Regions from separate parts of the Homo sapiens genome. Here region 1 is linked to region 2. The links are contacts of gene promoters, found by promoter capture Hi-C in human tissues and cell types (Jung and others, 2019). All regions are on one chromosome and are shown on one strand. Each heading gives the region's core, a stretch centred on a gene start or on the middle of the fragment in contact. The rest is flanking DNA. Distances are from core to core; before and after follow the strand shown.

Region 1 (2,976 bases), core at 19-2,518, 68 kb after region 2:
CATAAAAATATTTCATAATAAGGTGAGAGTATCATCTCCAACTCAAAATCAGATTTTTTTCATTGATGTTATTATTTTCTAACTTTTGTGAAATTGATAGAGCAAACGTCTCCTCACAGTCACTTGAGACATGTATGAAACCATATATCATTTCATGAAATAGGTAATAAAAATAATATTTCTTTTCTGATCTTTCACATCCTCTTTCACCTTCCAAAAAAATGTACACACAGATACACAGAATTCTTTCTCAATGGGAAATTATTTACCTTTGTCAAGATGGTGCCATTGGGGAGGAAGATCTCCAGAGGCAAACGTATTTTACAGGAGGAGCTGACCAGGAAAATCTTTTATGTTGATGCCACCTCTTTGGTTCTACCAGAGGGACTGTGCAGACCTGCTTTTTATCTGTGAAAGTGATTTTTCCTTCACTTAAGAACGCAACAAACAAATAGGTTAAGTGCAGTGTAGATTCAGGACAAGGTGATGGTTTTTCGAAGACTGGGTGTGAATGAGAACCTGAGGAGGGGAAAGAGAAAAATGTCATCCTTATGCACTTCAGGTAGAAATATGCATTCAAGACATTCACAGACTTCTAAAACAGCTCACACATAGCTAGCCACTAAGCTTCATATTCCACTGGGAACCTGAGATCCAGGCCTTTACATTATCTGATATACTGGCTGATTTGAATTCTCAGCCACTGAGACATTTCATCCACTGGGTTTCCCGAAGGGAAACTATGATGTCACCTATTCAGTGAGTACACTAAAGACCAGCAACTCTACCTTTCCCCAGGTGCCAAGAGTAACTCAGCCTGGGTGACCCAAATGAGCTGGCAATTTCCAACCAACCGACTCTCCCTCTATTCAGGGGTGCAACACTTAGCAGCAACAAGCTACAGTTGCCTCTATATGTTATGTCTCCTCATGGGGAGAACAGAGGTCCCCCGAGTGGCAGATCCAGGATCCATTATGAACTCCATGGGTCCTCTGTGCCTCTCAGAGCTTCTCTTCCTTGCAGAGCCACTTGGCTTCTGGAAACTTCAGTGTCACTATCAGTGCCACATGATAATGTCTCTGCTCAGGCTCATGACAAGGGCCACATAAACCTTTTGGTGGTAGCTGCGGTGTTGTAAAACAATCTGATACACTCACCCAGAATAATCGTTGTGTGCTAATGCTTGCTTAAGAGACTCCAGTAATTTTTTTTTTTGAGACGGAGTTTCACTCTTGTCATTCAGACTGGAGTGCGGTGGAGCAATCTCAGCCTCGCAGGTTCAAGCAATTCTCCTGCCTCAGCCTCCCAAGTGGCTGGGATTACAGGTGCCTGTCACCACACCTGGCTAATTATTTGTATTTTTAGTAGAGACAGGGTTTTGCCATGTTGGACAGGCTGGTCTTGAACTCTTGAAACAATATTCATTTATTCACCCATTGAACATATACTTATCAAGCATATACTAAATTCCAATGGCATTACAGAAGATTGACCTCAAAAATCATTTCAAGCCAGGCATGGTGACTAGAGCCTATAATGCCAGCATTTTGAGAGGCTGAGATGGGAGGATGACTTGAGCTCAGGAATTTGAGACCAACCTGGACACATCGTGAGATATCATCTCTACCAAAAAAAAATAGAAAAATACCCAGGCATTGTGGTGCATACCTGTAGTCCCACCTACTCAGGAGGCTGAGGTGGGAGGATCACTCAAGCCTGGGAGGTCGAGGCTATAGTGAGCTGTGATTTTATCATGGCATTCTAGCCTGGGTGACAGAGTGAAACCCTGTCTCAAAAAAAAGAAAAAAAAATTGTTTCAATTTTATTGTAAACATGGATGAATTACAAATGGGTGGAGTAGGAGATTTAGGCTAGTCAGAGACGCACTCAGTGACAAGGTCACCTCTCAGGTGCTTGTGCTTTAGATCACACTTGTTTATAGCCCTGTGCCCTGGGCTACAGACAAAAGCTGAGGCTGCCTGTATCCCAGAAGGGAAAGGTGCCAACTCCTGCAATGGATATCCAAAAGCAATCTAAATAAATCTAGTGGGTTACCTCTTAAAAGACAGTCAACCTGACATCTTGTGATTTGGATAGAAGGGAGAGCAGGAGACTCTCAGGAAGAAGAGCTGCAGCACAGAGGACCTTGGAGTCATTTTATCACCAGGGCTGTGTCCCTAGGGGAGCTGCAGAAAGCAGTGCTCTTCTCTGGGACACTTTCATGGCCTCCAGGACTCTGGGCCCTGTGGTCCCTGTAGGCTGTGGGGGATAAATTCTCAGCCTGATTATTATTGCAACTCCTCTGGGTGGGATGACACAAAGGCCAAGTTTAGGAAATATGCCTGAGGGCCCCTTGGAGTAAGAGGACAAGTAGAGCTTCTCTGACTTGGCCTGGGCAAACTAGGTCCAGACTCCCTGCAGGGAATGGGACTTGCATTGGGCTGAACAGTAGTACTTGGGCACTTTTTCTTCCCTCAGTAGATATATAGGTCCAAAAAATCAGATATGAGGTAAAGGGAAGACTGTTTAAAAAAATAAAACTTTAGACAAAATAAATTTAATAGCATTTATTGGAGCAAAGAGCAATTCATGAATTGGGCAGCACTCAGAACAAGAAGAGGTTCAGAGAGCTATGCTGTAGCAGCCCAGATGGTGAGGCCAACACAGGAGTAAGACAGAGAAATTATATTTAATGGATTATCATGGAAAGATGCTAATTAGAGGTAGATGACGGATTCCAGTTGGTAAATTCTCTAGTTTCATTTTACTGTTTACATCAGGTTTCAGTTTGCTTACATAGGAAATTAAAGCACTGGAGCCACCCCAGCCTACTGGCCTTCATCTCCTCCCAATTATTTTTTTACAACTGGTTCCTGAATCCCTTCAAAGATGACTATTTAAATTTAAGTAAGTGATAGATGGAAACAATGCATTCAATATCATAAATCAATCTTTCTGTTTTTTCAACAGAGAATA
Region 2 (3,104 bases), core at 323-2,822:
GGGAGTCATGGGGGAGCGAGCAAGAGAAAGAGAGAGAGAGACCTACAGGTGTGCAGTACCTGATAGAAACAGTGACCTCGCCCACTGGAAAAGCTGTCCTCACCAGTGTCTTGGCACCTGCTTATTAACTCATTTTGGGGAAAGCAGGGCACCAGTAGAATCAGGGTAGAAACCCCCCACCCTCGTATTTTCAAATGTACCTGAACAAGCATTCACAGCTTCCAACTATTGTGCAATAAACAGCAAAAAAAAAAAAAGTCCTTGAACCAAAATTGTCCTTAGCTGCTCTGCCCTCTAAGATGGGGCATAGTTTACATGGGAGTTGGGGGAGGACTCCATGTTTGCCCCTTCCCCTTGCTGAGATGGCTGGGGGTGGGGGCTGGAAAAAGTTGGATTCAGCAGAATGTAATTTGGAAAACATGGCTCTGGAGCACCATCCCCTCTGGCCCCTGAATCCTCACCAGCTTCCACCCTCTGCTCACCTTGGGCCCTGGATTCCAGCGCCCCCAGGCTCCCAGCTGCCTCCCTGTCTCTGCCCCATGGTCCAGCCTGGAGTTCTGGTCCCTGGTTGTGTCCTGTGGCCCCATTCTCATGCGCCCTTTGCTTCTATTTCTTTACCTATGACTTTATACTGATGTAAAGCGAGTCTTCTCGGTCGCTTCTTGTTCTCTGAGGAATGTTGAATCAGAATCTAAATGGAAAATCTGGGAAGAGATAGAACCTCCCGCGGGAGCCACCCTGCCCTTCCATGTCTAGATCATCTGGGTTCCAACCTCCATCCTCCTCCAATGAGAAGCTTTTGTTCTCTCAAGATTCCAGTGACTTCTCCGAAGCTCTCTTCATCCCTGGCTGTTCCAAGGTGGCCCCATAGTCAAGATTCCTTAAACCCTTGCCCCTTAAAATGTTTGCCTTTCTTACCATGCTGGCTCCAGCCTCTGGTCCCAGGGGTGTGGAGAGTTCTCTCTTACTTCTGGCTGATTTCCAGGAAGGCTAAGAACACTCTCCCCAGGTTATAATGCTGAGCATTTTGGTTCTCTCCAGCCCTGGGTCCCCATGTCAGGACCTACCTTAGTCCAGTCCATGCTCTCCCATGGGCCTGAGAGAAGATTTGAAGTTTCTGGCTTTCCCTCCAACCCTCCAACTCTCACCCCCAGCCATTTCAGCAAGGGGAAGGGGCAAACATGGAGTTTTCCCCCCAACTCCCATGTAAACTATGCCCCCTCTTAAGAGGGCAGAGCAGCTAAGGACTATTTTGGTTCAAGGACATTTTTTTTTTTTTTGCTGTCCATTGCACAAGCAAGTGGACTCCCGGAAGCCAGCCCTGCTCGTCCTCTGGGCCCTCCTTTCCCTGGTCCTGCAGGTCTTGCTGCTTGTCAGGCCTCTCCTCCAACCGTCTGCCACATTTCAGAAAAGCTGAGAACCCCTTGGAGTGAAAAAGGAGGAGAAACACGGTGTCTGTATCCCAGCAGGAAGTTAAATAAATACTTTCACTTTTCTTTTCCCCATTTGGGCAGAAATCTGTGAGGGTGAGTCAGTCTGTCGGCCGACTTCCTGCTCCGGGTCAGGGCAGCCACACTGCACGCAGGCTGGGCCGACTGGGGAGCTCATAGGCCAGGCTCTGACACCCAGGCAGGGCCTAGGGTGGGACGATGGCAGGTGGGGGCAGCGACCTGAGCACCAGGTGAGTCTTTATCTCTCTTCCTTTCACCTTTATCTCTGGCAGTATTGGAGCTTTCATGCCTGTAGTTCAGTTTCTGTCTAAAGCTTCAGTTTAGTCCTGCTTTGCAAGAACATAGGTAGGTAGTGTAATATAATGGAATAAAAGAGAATGTAATAAGGAAATCAGATTTTTACAACTGCAGCAGGACAGCTGTTTGTGTGAGTCCAGCTTGCCATAACACAGATGACTTTTCTTGTTTTGAAACTACTGCTCAGCTGGCGGGGACACTCTGAACAGTCGTTTCAGTCATTTGTGACTGAGAGTTATTATTTCCTCATGAGAATGAGGAACACAAATTATATGTTTGTGTTTCAACAAACATTTCCTCATGATCTCCCAACCCTTTCACATCCCTCTGCCCTCTCTACCTTCACATATGTCATGTCAAAGAAGGTAGTTTGGAAATAGACACTCCAGGGTAAACAGCTGGCTTACTTTTAAACATTGGAAACTGTGGTTTCACCTGTCTTGGCAAGGGGCCTCAGTCAGCTTTGGGGCTATTTCCTTGACTGACTCAGGGTGTGAGTTCTGATACAATTGACCTTGATCCAAAGAAGGAAAAAGAAGAAAAAGGCCCAGGATGGCAGAAAGCTAAATATTTTTATTTTTACTTCAATTTCCTGTCCCAAGATGGGGGATGCCTCTGACCAGAAAAGAGATGGAAATCCTATCTTTTCTCTAGTAACGAGTTTATAAATAACATTACGTAATCTTTTTATTTTATTTCATTTTTTTGAGACAGGGTCTCACTCTGTCAACCAGGCTGGAGTGCAGTGGCACAATCCCGGCTCACTGCAACCTCTGTCTCCTGGGTTCAAGCGATTTTAATCTTTTAAATTTTTTAATACAAAAGAAATACATTACATTCTTACTCATAAAATTTCAAACAGTGGAGAAGTGTATAAACGAAAAAGTCTTCTTCACCACTCACTTCGCCTTGTAGCTTCCTTTCACAGTCTTGTGAAGAGTCTTCGGCATAACTTTTCTCATATTTTTCGATGCATTTACGTGTATGAAGTATGTTTTTGTAAACATATAATTTGTGTTCTCGTTTTGTAATAAATGGAATTACATTGTGCGTGCTATTCTGCATTTTGCATTTCTACTCATTTTAATGGTGGAAATCTTAGAGATCTTTTCACCTTAATGCATATAGATCTACCTCACTCTTTTTACATATACTATTCCATAGAATTTACATAGCATAATTTTTTAACCATTCTCCAATTGAAGGACATTTAGATTGTTTTAAATTGTTCACGTTTATCAATAAGCTATAATAATGATTATATATTTCTCTTTTTTTTGCACATATGCAAGTATTTCTCTTGTGCCTAAACCTTAAAAAGTGGAATTGTTGAAGCAAAGGGTGCTGTTATTTACT

The links. The method cuts DNA at HindIII sites, captures the fragments that hold promoters and counts their contacts. A contact is called where the count stands out against the background at its distance.
Region 1: a contact is called between a fragment that was not itself captured here and the fragment with the promoter of SP140L in region 2, in 2 of the 25 tissues and cell types used here (lymphoblastoid cells and thymus).

What each region holds. Positions count from the first base shown.
Region 1 is chr2:230,393,787-230,396,762 of GRCh38, forward strand. It overlaps SP140L (SP140 nuclear body protein like), which reads left to right. Exons shown (of 19, transcript NM_138402.6): 14 at 2,971-2,976. LOC105373925 (a long non-coding RNA gene) reads right to left here. Exons shown (of 4, transcript XR_001739922.2): 4 at 363-519. Among named protein-coding and RNA genes, the nearest start is that of SP100, 21 kb to the right of the region's middle. The HindIII fragment of the contact is 6,208 bases long and covers 1-2,976 here.
Region 2 is chr2:230,325,621-230,328,724 of GRCh38, forward strand. SP140L (SP140 nuclear body protein like) reads left to right here and starts at 1,573. Exons shown (of 19, transcript NM_138402.6): 1 at 1,573-1,681. The coding sequence starts at 1,650. RefSeq lists an enhancer at 1,247-1,716. The HindIII fragment of the contact is 8,396 bases long and covers 1-3,104 here.